Regions from separate parts of the Homo sapiens genome. Here region 2 is linked to region 1. Evidence: promoter capture Hi-C in 16 types of primary human blood cells and fetal thymus (Javierre and others, 2016). All regions are on one chromosome and are shown on one strand. The core of a region is centred on a gene start or on the middle of the fragment in contact, and the rest is flanking DNA. Distances in the headings are between cores, read along the strand shown. Region 1 holds the start of VAMP4 (vesicle associated membrane protein 4). Region 2 holds the start of RC3H1 (ring finger and CCCH-type domains 1).

Region 1 (5,509 bases), core at 1,445-3,944:
TGGAGAGGGCACAGAAGCTCTGTACCCCTTGCCCTATGCACCTCTTCCATCTGGCTGTTGATCTCTATCCTTTATAATAAACCAGTAAACAAAGTGTTTCTCTTAATTCTGTAAGCCACTCTAGCAAATAAACTGAACACAAGGAAGGGATTGTGGGAACTCTGATTTATAGCCAGTCAGTTGGAAACACAGGTAAAACAACCTGGAACTTGTGATTGGCACCTGAAGTGGGGGGAATCTTGTAGGATTAAGCCCTCAACCTGCAGGATCTGATGCTATCTCTAGGTATACAGTATCAGAATTGAATTAGAGGACACCCAGCTGGAGAATCTGCTGCAGAATTTCCTCCTTGCTTGTGAGGAGAAATCTTTTGGGGGTCTGTGTTGAGAGAGAATAGGAGAAACTCAATTTTTTTCTATCAAAACAACTGGATTAAACAAAGCTAGTTTTCTTTGCTACAGAATGACTCACATCCTGTTATATGCTAATATGCATTGTGACTTTCCAGGAAAATGCTTGTGTATGCAACATACTAAAATTTTTTTTTGCGAAAAAGTTCTTCTATGCAAATAATGAATTTTCAGTATTTTTGACTAGATGGTAGATGAATACCCATCAATTCAGGATAGCTCAGAAATACTGAATGTTTTACTATGTGCTAGGCACGGTGCTCAGTGATACACATGCATTTTCTTTTACTCTTTATGATGCTTCTTTAAAGTAGGCACCAAGAAACTAGGAGAAAACTAAAGTTTAGTAACGATAACGTTAGTCACTACATTCATTGAAACAGCAGAGATACAGGCCTAAATTAATCAATGGCTGTGCATTATCAGTTTTAATCATTTGTTCAATTAGTTGCCCATCAGGTTTACAGAATTCTGTTCTAGAAAGACTCACTTCCTGCTAACAACCCAATAGTCCTGCTTCCTTTTCCATAAGAAGAAACACTTAGACCTTTAAATTAGGTATAGTTAGACATCAGTTTGTTTGTTAATGATATACACTTAAAAAAGAATAATCCCAGGATCTGGCTTCACGAACCAAATAAAAGTAATGTTTTAAGTCAGCTGCTTGTCAAAACCAAAGGACACACTTTTCTTTGATAAGAAATGCTTCCAAATCAGAAATTATTCACTTGTAACAAAAACCAAATTCTTGCTGCCTGAGTAACAGCTCTTGAGTTCTTGGTTCCACAATATTTCTGTCACATACATCTGGCCCTTTTATTCCTCATACTTTGATGTCAGAATACTTCATTCATGCAGAAATGTAACAGAATGCATGGAAAAACAGATGACAAGGCAAATTACTGAAGAACTTGTGCTTTTAACTATTATCTGTATTTAGATTTTAACCCCTGCAATGAGGCTGCCTCAACATCCCAAAGCAAACAACGGGCAGACTTATATAATGCCTTTATAAGACATACAGTAAAACTACAATCTTAAGGATGAGCAAACACCATATTCAGGTCTCTTAATCCCAAGAAACCATGTGCAACAAATAGCCCATCAGCAAAGCAGTAGGCAGATTAATTAGCTACCTTGATGAACTTTGATGTTATTTGCAACTGATTATTAGTAACTGATATGTGTATCAAACAACTAGTAGAAATAAATCATGCTCAGAAAGTAGACTAGGATATAGTCTGCCTAAGATTTCTCCTACAAAAAAAGACATGTGAATTCAGCTGTTTGTGACTAGGTATACATGTAAATAAGAGAGCCATCATGTACTTCCACATTGAGGATAGACCACCACTATACAATTCACTCAAATGAGTCACATCACCGTATGCTTCTTATACATCAGCATATACTTAAATGTCTATGTGTGCGTTTTTGTAAGTAGTACGTTATCTAGTCAATAGCTTTGAATCTGGGCAAAGGCTCTCCTTTTCCCAGCCTCCATTCTCTTTCTGATTCGTCTTCCTTGTCTGTCATCAGCCTTCTTGCTTGATGCAGTTTCACAGAAATAAAGTGACTTGGATGGACACAGACCGGAGATATTATTTGCAAAACCTGTCAAGTGTAACGATTCACCCCCACCTTCCGGTCATTATAAACACAGCAGGGTTGGCGCTCTTTCCCCCGGGCCCTTTAAATACACAATTTCAGGCAGCTCCGTTCACCCCCCACACCCAATCTGTCACACCAGGCCACGTCCCACGATATATCTGCTCCTAACGCTGGCCCTTCCTGCCCCATTGTACCCCCTGGAATTCCTCACTACATCCCACTCTTAACAAACCTTCCCCATCCATGGTACTGTTCTCTTCCCATCACCCCAGAGTACCCCTCAATTCCAATTCTTCTCTCCCTCAACTGCTCCTCGTCCGCATACCCCTGTCCTCGTCTTCCTTCCTCACGGCACCCCCGGCCCCAACCTTTTCCCACTCCGGGGTCCCTTCCTAGATCCCCGAGGCCCGCCGACCAGCCCGACTAGGACGTCGGGGGGCGGCAAGGCAGGGGCGTCTTCTTCGTTTCCTTCCTCCTCACACCAGCCCCTCCCGCTGCGAACAGGCCAGCGCCAGTACCTGAGGCTCCCGGGGAACTCCCGGCAGCTCTCCCGGGCTGGCGGTGCTGGGCGGGCGGGGGAAGGAGTAGGAAGCCGAGGTAAGAAGCTGGGAGGGGGAGACAGTTGGTGCGGACCCGGCGTCGGCCGCAGCGCCGCAGCAGCGCCTCCGCTCATCGAGCCGATCGGCGCTCGGCGGCCTGGCGCCAGGCGGAGGGGGCGGGTCCAGGGCACGGAGATAATCGAGGAAGTCGATCCGCCGAGCCCTATTCACCTAAAAGAGCCCGAACCCACACGCAGTTTAGATGCATCTCTCCAAATTTATGCTGTGCTTTAGGGGAGGAACAACCACTGGTTGTCCACGTTCCGGTCGTGATCCGGCGTGCGTGGAGGGCGATTAGGGGAGGAGTGGGAAACTTCCGAGAACCGCTCGGGACTGGGCGCCGCGCCGGAGTGCGTGGCTGGGGTGATGAGGCGTTAGAAAGAAGGTGGTGCTTGGTGGCACATCCGTCCCTCTGGCTGACTACGTTGAGTGGCAAGTGGAGAGTGGCTCGCAGCTCGAGGACCTGCTTCGGGTTCGTCTGGGGCCTTTTCTGAAGAAAGGAGATCTGTTTGATCCCCTGTTTACAGAATTAGAGCTAGACTTGGAAAGAGATGTTAAGGCCAGGCTCCTCCCTTTAGATAGGAGGAATATCTGGTTCAGAGAGGAGATTGACTTAAAGTTAACACGGCTAGTTTAGATAGATACGGGACGAGGGCTCGGTGTTCTTTTCCCGGTATCCCTTAGTTGTAACCTGAAAGCCTTCAGGAAATCGCCCTCGCCAGGCCATTCCGCCACTCTGCCCATTCCTTCCTCACTCCCTCCCCCTCCGCCCAATTTGGTATCATGTTTAGATCTCCACGCCCGCAGTAGCTGTCTACCAGAAACAATTCCTAATTTTGTTTTTCCGTTCTCTTATTTGTTTTATTATCCGTTCCTCCCACGCCCCAGCTGGATTATTTTACTCATTGAATCATATTCACTACACATCTTTTAAAATTAATACAGTATCTATGGGTCCTTTGTTGATACAGTATTTTAACTGTCTGAAATACTGTGCCAGGCACTTTCTAAAGACATAAAAATAAGAGGGGGTGTTCAAGAACAAGAGTAGACAAGAAAACAGCAGGAGGAAAGATCTGCGGACACTAAAGGAAAGGAAAGAATAGACACCCTCTTACCAAAAAGTTGTTCTTCTTTTGTTTGATGTTTATTTTTATGTAAAAATGTACTAACGAATTTGAAAGATGCCATGACTAAGGCAACGATGCTCCACTCTGATTCACTTGGAGTTGAATCACTTGGAAAGCTTTTAAAACTACGTAGGTGCCCACGTGCTACCTAGATTCTGATTTAAATGTTCTGAGATTTAGAAACAGCCGTTGAGTTGTCAGTTGAAGGTTCTGAAAGCTTAATGCTAAACTCAGTTGCCTGTGTTTATTCAGTCCAAGTTGCTGTCCAAGTCAGCAACTTGGACTGAAACGGCCCACTTAGAAGAGAAGCCTCTCATGGTTTGTATCCCTGTCTAGGTGTGATAGTGGGTCTACCCCCAGACTCCACAGGTAACCCTGACATTATTTTTTCTTCTACAGCTGATCTTTTTTTTTTTTTTGAGATGAAGTCTCACTTCTTCCCCCAGGCTGGAGTGCAGTGACACAATCATAGCGCACAGCAGCTCTGAACTCCTGAGCTAAAGTGATCTTCCTGCCTCTGCCTCCCAAGTAGCTGGGATTACAGGCATGAGCAGCTGTGCCCAGCACTTACAGTTGATTTTATGTCTGTATATTTGCATGTTATGGGCTATTTTCTGGCTTTGGTGCCTTAGCCAATTAGAGTTTAGCTAGTTATAGCCTCATCTCTTAGACAACTTAAGGTGTGGTCAGTGAGCTCTAACAGGCACGTCATTGCATAGCTTTTACAGATAATCCATTCTTTGGGTTTTTTTGTTTTTTAAACATAATTCTTTAGTCCTGCCAGTCATTTTGGAATGATCGCTTAGGAGAGGGGTAATGCAAGCCCCACCCTTAATCACCTGAACAAAGTCCCTTTGACTAACCCCAATATTTGTGAAACTTAGAAAATGTCATTTTACAGTTAACATGAATCAAATATACCAGTAAGCCTAAAAGATTATAATAGCACTGAGCTTAGAGTCAGAACTCCAAGCAACTTGAGTTACTTATTTCCTCCATTTTCTTTTTAGTGAGCTTCAGTTATTCAGATGTTAGTCCTCTAATTTTCTTTTCCCCTTTTTCAACATGACACCTTCATCCTTAAGAGGGCCTGCTGTCCTCCTAGCTAGAGAATCAGCGTTTTGCTGTCTTTCAGGACTAAATCTCTGGGTTTTTGATGGGATAGCAAAGGGAATCTCAGCATCTGATTCATTCTTAAACAGACTTTATACCATTCCGCCTGTATTTATAGCTCACATCATGCTCTCTTCAGCTTTACGTGGTGTTTCCAATTCCTGAGCCTTATACAGGGTTTCACTGTGTGTATCAGGTTGCTTCATGGCCTGCTTGGGATTCCTACTTTTCAAGTCTGCTAAGGCAATTGCATCTTGATTCATCTCCCTTCTAGCTTTCAATATTTTGTTGCTAAATGTTCAACATTACTTAAAATGTAAAAGTGAACAAGGAAATACCATTTTTCATCTATCAGTGACTGAGAAAGAAGGAGTTGAGCAGAAGATCTGCAATCCAGTCTCTCCCTTCGTAGGGAAATACTCTCAGGAAAGCAAGGTTAAAGCAAGCAAAAAAGCATGTGATTTTTATAAAATATAAAGTATATACTAATTACAGACCTCCTGGCAAACAAACTAATGGCATTTGCTAGCAAGAGAGTCCATATTTACGGAATTCCTCTAACAGGATGTCCCAGGGCTGGGATTGTTTATGGTAAACACATTAAGAATCGATGTGGTAATTCCAGCACTTTGGGAGGCTGAGGCAG
Region 2 (5,596 bases), core at 1,633-4,132, 2.3 Mb after region 1:
CATTCTTCATATGAAAAAATGAGGACAACAGAACTAATACTGCAGCATAATGAGGAAGCTTAAATATTTTTATTCATTCAACAAATATGTTCTGAAAGGCGTTGTGTACAAATTACCCTTTTTTATTTCTTCAAATAAATCAAGCATATATTAACTTTTAATATTACCAAGAAAATATAAATCTAATTCTTAAGCTCTGGTTCCAAAACTTCTTAGAAGTAAATTTTTATTACCTGAGAAAATGTGAACTTAAGTAATAAGTATTGATACTGAAGAAGGGACAGTTGAGTTTGTGTCAAAACTTAAAACTGTTTTGACACAAAATAAATAAAAACAATTCCCTAAATTTTTTTCCTATTGAACAGAAATACGGACCCAGACTAAGCCCATAAATTGCTGGGTCAATAACCAATCTGAAATACAAAACCTTACCACTTAAAAATATTTATTTTCAGGAAAATGATATTAAATATGAGGTAAATCTGCCCTTGACATAACACGGTGAGATTGTTTTCATAACACAGCACATGAACCACTTAAAACTTACAACCTATAAATTACTACAATTGTTCTAATAGGTTTAGGGCCATACATAAATTTAAGTATCATTATAACACAGACTTTACTTGGAATCTGTGCTGACCTAACAAAATTAGCACAGAAAAAAAAAAAAAATCACAGATTTGAGCACCTGAAAAACGGTGTCCTTTCTGAAATATCTGCAAAAAAGTCACAACATCAGGAGCCATAGAAAGTTGTTATTTCTCCATCATTCAAAAAATCAAAACATCTCCAACATTATTTATGCTAAGCATAAAATGAAGGTCAGTATTGATATTCATTCACTATACTTCAAATCCTAAACAAGAAAATTCAACCTTTATGTTTATTCAATTGCTAATCTATTCAGTGTCAATTGTTGTGGAAGAACTAAGAACTAGACTAGTGCTGCTTATAATGTTTTTAATTAGAACAGACTTGGACCAATTCTACTTAGAAATTTACCCTTAGAAGAGGTGAAAGATATTAACTGGCATCTTTTCAGCACAGGTCAGTGCTGAAAAGAACACAACCTATAACCCTTAGGCCTTGCAGTTGAATGTTAACAAGTGAAAAGCAATCTCCTTGGATGTATCCAAGCGATTTTAATATAAATTTCTGCATACCTAGGTAGAAAGTACTTTAGAAATAAATCTACCTTTTCCCTCACTTGTAAGAAAATGTGGTAGAAGCCTTGAAAAATTAAGTTTAAGGCTGAGCGAGGTGGCTCACGCCTGTAATCCAAGCACTTTGGGAGGCGGAGGAGGGCAGATGACTTGAGGTCAGGAGTTCCAGACCAGCCTGGCCAACATGGTGAAACCCCGTCTCTACTAAAAATACAAAAATCAGCCGGGCATGGTGGCGGGCGCCTGTAATCCCAGCTACTCCGGATGGTGAGGCAGGAGAATCGCTTGAATCCGGGAGGTGGAGGCTGTAGTGAGCCGAGATTGTGCCACTGCAATCCAGCCTGGGTGACAGAGCAAGACTCCGTCGCAAAACAAAACAAAAACGAAATCAAATTTCAAACTCAGAGAAAAGACTGGTCTTGAACAATTTCAGGAAAAATTACTGAAACACGAGACAAGGCACAAGAAGCTCTATGGCCGGAGATGAACCACCTGTCTCCTTTCGAAGTGCTTCCTGAGGTCCACTTTATGCTAGTTAATGTTGCTTCTTATACTGCATGTTAGTAATTCAAAACGCCTAGCTGGAATAAAAGTCCTCTTTAAACATTACAGTTTGTCTCCGCGTTGCCAGTGTTTGTTTCCAGTTTCATAGGCTATTCTGGTATGTCAAGAGTTGTGTTATTACTGTTCCAAAAGAGCCCTTGTTTCAATCCACTCTCACCTGGGATGCGGGCATAACTGATGTTTATAGAACTGATACTTAGAGATGTTTAGAGAGGCGCATCCCTTACCACTCCATCCTTTACCGATAACCACATTTTATATGTTTTTGTTGCATTTAAGTTTTTTGTTTTTTTTTTTTAAAGACACCTGCACACACACAATTTTCCCATCGCCAGCAGGGAGAAGACTACCAGGCTAGATCTCCAGGGACTTCAGGGAAACAGACACCGTGAAATCCACTTGGCCAAAGAAGGGGAGCGCTTCAGGGGCTGGGGGAGGAAGCAGCCCTGAGGTGCTGGGAGGCCGAGGCGGCGCCTGTTTACAGACGCCTTCGCCCTCCCCCACCCCCACAGACTAGGGGTCCAAAAAGCAGTTCCCGTGCGCATTCCCCGCCTGGCCCAGGCCCTGGGAGTACCACAGGAGCCAGGTAGCCCTTTCGCCCCCTCCCTCTCGTCCGAGCCTCCCTTCGTCCTCCTCTCGGCCTACCTACCCCGACAGGCCCTACAGGCGGCATGCAGAGGCCTGAGGCCTAAAGGACGCCGGCCACTGACAAGCCCCAGAACAGCCGGCGGGGGCCCTGAGGAGCCTGGGGCCGGCCGGGCTGCCGCTGCCGCGGAGGAGCAGAGGGCGGGCGAGGACAAACCCTTCCCGACCACAGCTGCCTATTGTTCCCGACTGAGGCCCCGGCCGCGGCAGCCCCGCTCCCCAAGTCGCCGCCCGCCGCTCGCTCACCGCGCTGGTCCGAGCAGCAGCTCCTCTCAGCTCCGAGTCCCCGCGGCCGTCGCCACCGCCGCGGCAGCCGCCGCCGCCGCCGAGGCCACCGTTGACTCTGATTCTGTCCCAGGCCGCCGGGCCACGGCTGCCGCCGCCACCGCCAGCACCGCCTCCGGCCTCCCACCTGCTGCTGCTGAGGCTGCTCCTGCAGCAGGGGCCATCTTGTTGCTCGGCCTCCTCTTCCTCCTCCTCGTCCTCCGCCGCCCAGTCGCTCGTTGTCCTCGTCCCCTTCCTCTTCCTCAGGCTCCGGCCCGCCCCGGAGACTGGGGCGGAGACGAGGGCGAGGATCCTCCCTCAGGAGGCGGGGCGGGCGGAGGGGAGGGGCGGGCGCGGGAGCAAAGCTCTGAGTCACCGGCCACCAACGCCCGGAGGGAGACCGGCGACGCTCTCCGCCGCGACCGAAAGTCTCACACGCCCTGAGCAGATGAACCGGTCCCTCGGTCCGGTCTGCCCTCCCGCACCGGCGCCTTTGGGCTCAGCGGGCCAGTGGCCAGATGGCGAGAGTAAATTGGGGGAATTTCTTTCGTTTCCATCGAACCCCACACTACGTCTACTCTTTCGGCTTTCTCAGCCGTTGTCCCCCAACTCTTGTTTCTTTTTCACGTCTTGTCCCCCACCCCATTTTTCTTCTTCCATATTATCCAGGTTCTGGATCTCATCAGCTTTGTCCTCGTCACCCCTCTGGGAGTTCAGCCTCCTAAGGCTGTGAAACAGCCCAAAAGGCCCGGACACGCTACTCCAAAACGTCTCTCCTGGGCTGTGTGAACAATAAGAGCTATTTGGGGACGACAGGAAAAGATATGGCCCATAGAAGGGCTCCTGAAATCTAACCTTGCGACTCTTTAAAAGTTTCTTGTCCCTTGTGGAAAAGGTGCCGTTTTGGTTTTGGGGAATGGGAGGTCCCTTCAGACAATTCATTTTAGCCAAACCCTCGCTTTTGAGAAGGGGAAGAAATGGGATTATTGTAACACCATACAGTACTAATTTCAAAATAAATCATCTAGAATAGAGGAGAGAGAGAGTCCCCAAATAAACAACCATTTAATACCTCTACTCGGCGCTATCACCTTTTTTGCTTCAGGATTTGACCAAGAGAGCAGAGATTATGTTTTTCTGTCCTTTCTTCACTGTTTACATCACAGTACCCCAAGAGAAGCACTTCTGCCTTTAACTTGATACATTGGAATCGCTATCACAGATAGTGTTTTTGTATTATTTTTAAGAAATATCACACACCTTCCTAAACTCTTGGCAGAGAAGAATTCTTTTTAGTTGTTAGCACCCTCCTGCTACTGAGATCTCAGCTTCTGTTTAGAAGACCTATTGTTGTCTTTCCACTGATTGGAATTTGCTGCCTCTGAACTGGGTTTAATCTGTAATCGTCTTTTCAGCCTACTAAATAGTAACCCCAGTCCTACAGAGAGTGAATTTCTAGCTACCACAGGGGGATTTAGGTTAGCATGTGCCAATCTAAAGGGATCTCTTAAAGCCTTTCCCTTCTCAGACCAGGCCTCTGTACCCTGCTAGGAAAAACAGATTAATCTGCTCCTCCTGCTTTTCCTCCTCCTCCCTTCTTCTCACTCCTAGGGAACCTTCCACAACAGAAGGTTTTAGCGACTGTTGCTAGGCAAACATGCCAACTTCCTTGTTTAGGTGAAGCGAGTAACTCAACTTCCATTGCAAGTAACCTAGATAATGTAATTTCTTTGAACTATTAATAGTTATACCACAGTTGGTAAGGCTCCTTAAAGGTTCCCTTAAGCAGTATGATTTTTACGTTGTTTATTTTTATCTCGTCAATATTTCAATTAAAAATACGTTAAAGGACAGATAGATGCAGTGGCTCACGCCTGTAATCCCAACATTTTAGGAGGCTGAGGGGGGCGGATCACCTGAGGTCCGGAGCCTGACCAACGTGGAGAAACCCCATCTCTACTAAAAATACAAAAATTAGCCAGGTGTGGTGGCGTGCACCTATAGTCCTAGCTACTCGGGAGGCTGAGGCAGGAGAATCACTTGAACCTGGGAGGTGGAGGTTGTAGTGAGCCGAGATCACGCCATTGCACTCCAGTCTGGGCAAAAAGAGCTAAACTCTGTCTCAAAAAAAAAAAAAAAAAAAAAAAAAAAGTTAAAAATGGCGGCGCTTCCCCAAACCCAAATTCATTTTAGTGATATAAAGATGCATTTGACAGAAAAAGAAGAGCAGCTTTGAAGAAAACACTTATGCTTACAATAAAAAATAAAAAACTAATCTGTGAGAAGTCATATGTTTTCAACTCCCCAGTCAGACTAGAAGTGTAAGATACAGGGGATAAGGCCGGGAGCGGTGGCTCACGCTTGTAATCCCAGCACTTTGGGAGGCCGAGGCAGGCAGATCACGAGGTCAGGAGATGCAGACTATTCTGGCCAACATGGTGAAACCCCGTCTCTACCAAAAATACAAAAAGCCCGGCGTGGTGGCGCGCGCCTATAGTCCCAGCTACTCAGGAGACAGAGGCAGGAGAATCACTTGAACCTGAGAGGCAGAGGCTGCAGTGAGCCAAGATTGTACCACTGCACTCCAGCCTGGATGACAGCAAGACTCGGTCTTGGCAGAGCATTGTGGCCCACGCCTGTAATCCCAGCACTTTGGGAGGCTGAGGAGGGTGGCTCTCCTAAGGTCAGGAGTTCAAGACCAGCTTGGCCAACATGGTGAAACCCCGTCTCTACTAAAAATACAAAAAAATTAGCTGGGCGTGGTGGCAGGCACCTGTAATCCCATCTACTAGGGAGGCTGAGGCAGGAGAATCCTTTGAACCTGGGAGGCGGAGGTTGCAGTGAGCCGAGATCGTGCCATTGCACTCCAGCCTGGGCAACAAGAATGAAACTCCGTCTCAAAAAAAACACCAAAAATTAGCTGGGCATGGTGGTGCACGCTTGTAATCCCAGCTACT

What was found. Contacts are between HindIII fragments. The CHiCAGO score rates a contact against its expected background, and 5 or more counts as called.
Region 2: the fragment with the promoter of RC3H1 here is called in contact with the fragment with the promoter of VAMP4 in region 1 in 1 of 17 cell types (non-activated CD4 T cells); the score reaches 6.4 in non-activated CD4 T cells.

Annotation. Positions count from the first base shown.
Region 1 is chr1:171,739,371-171,744,879 of GRCh38, forward strand. VAMP4 (vesicle associated membrane protein 4) reads right to left here and starts at 2,695. Exons shown (of 8, transcript NM_003762.5): 1 at 2,540-2,695. The HindIII fragment of the contact is 4,907 bases long and covers 1-3,864 here.
Region 2 is chr1:174,019,475-174,025,070 of GRCh38, forward strand. RC3H1 (ring finger and CCCH-type domains 1) reads right to left here and starts at 2,883. Exons shown (of 20, transcript NM_172071.4): 1 at 2,622-2,883. RC3H1-DT (RC3H1 divergent transcript) reads left to right here and starts at 3,009. Exons shown (of 2, transcript NR_187284.1): 1 at 3,009-3,166; 2 at 3,309-3,716. RefSeq lists enhancers at 1,509-1,628, 1,693-2,232 and silencers at 2,439-2,758, 2,869-3,118. The HindIII fragment of the contact is 5,810 bases long and covers 57-5,596 here.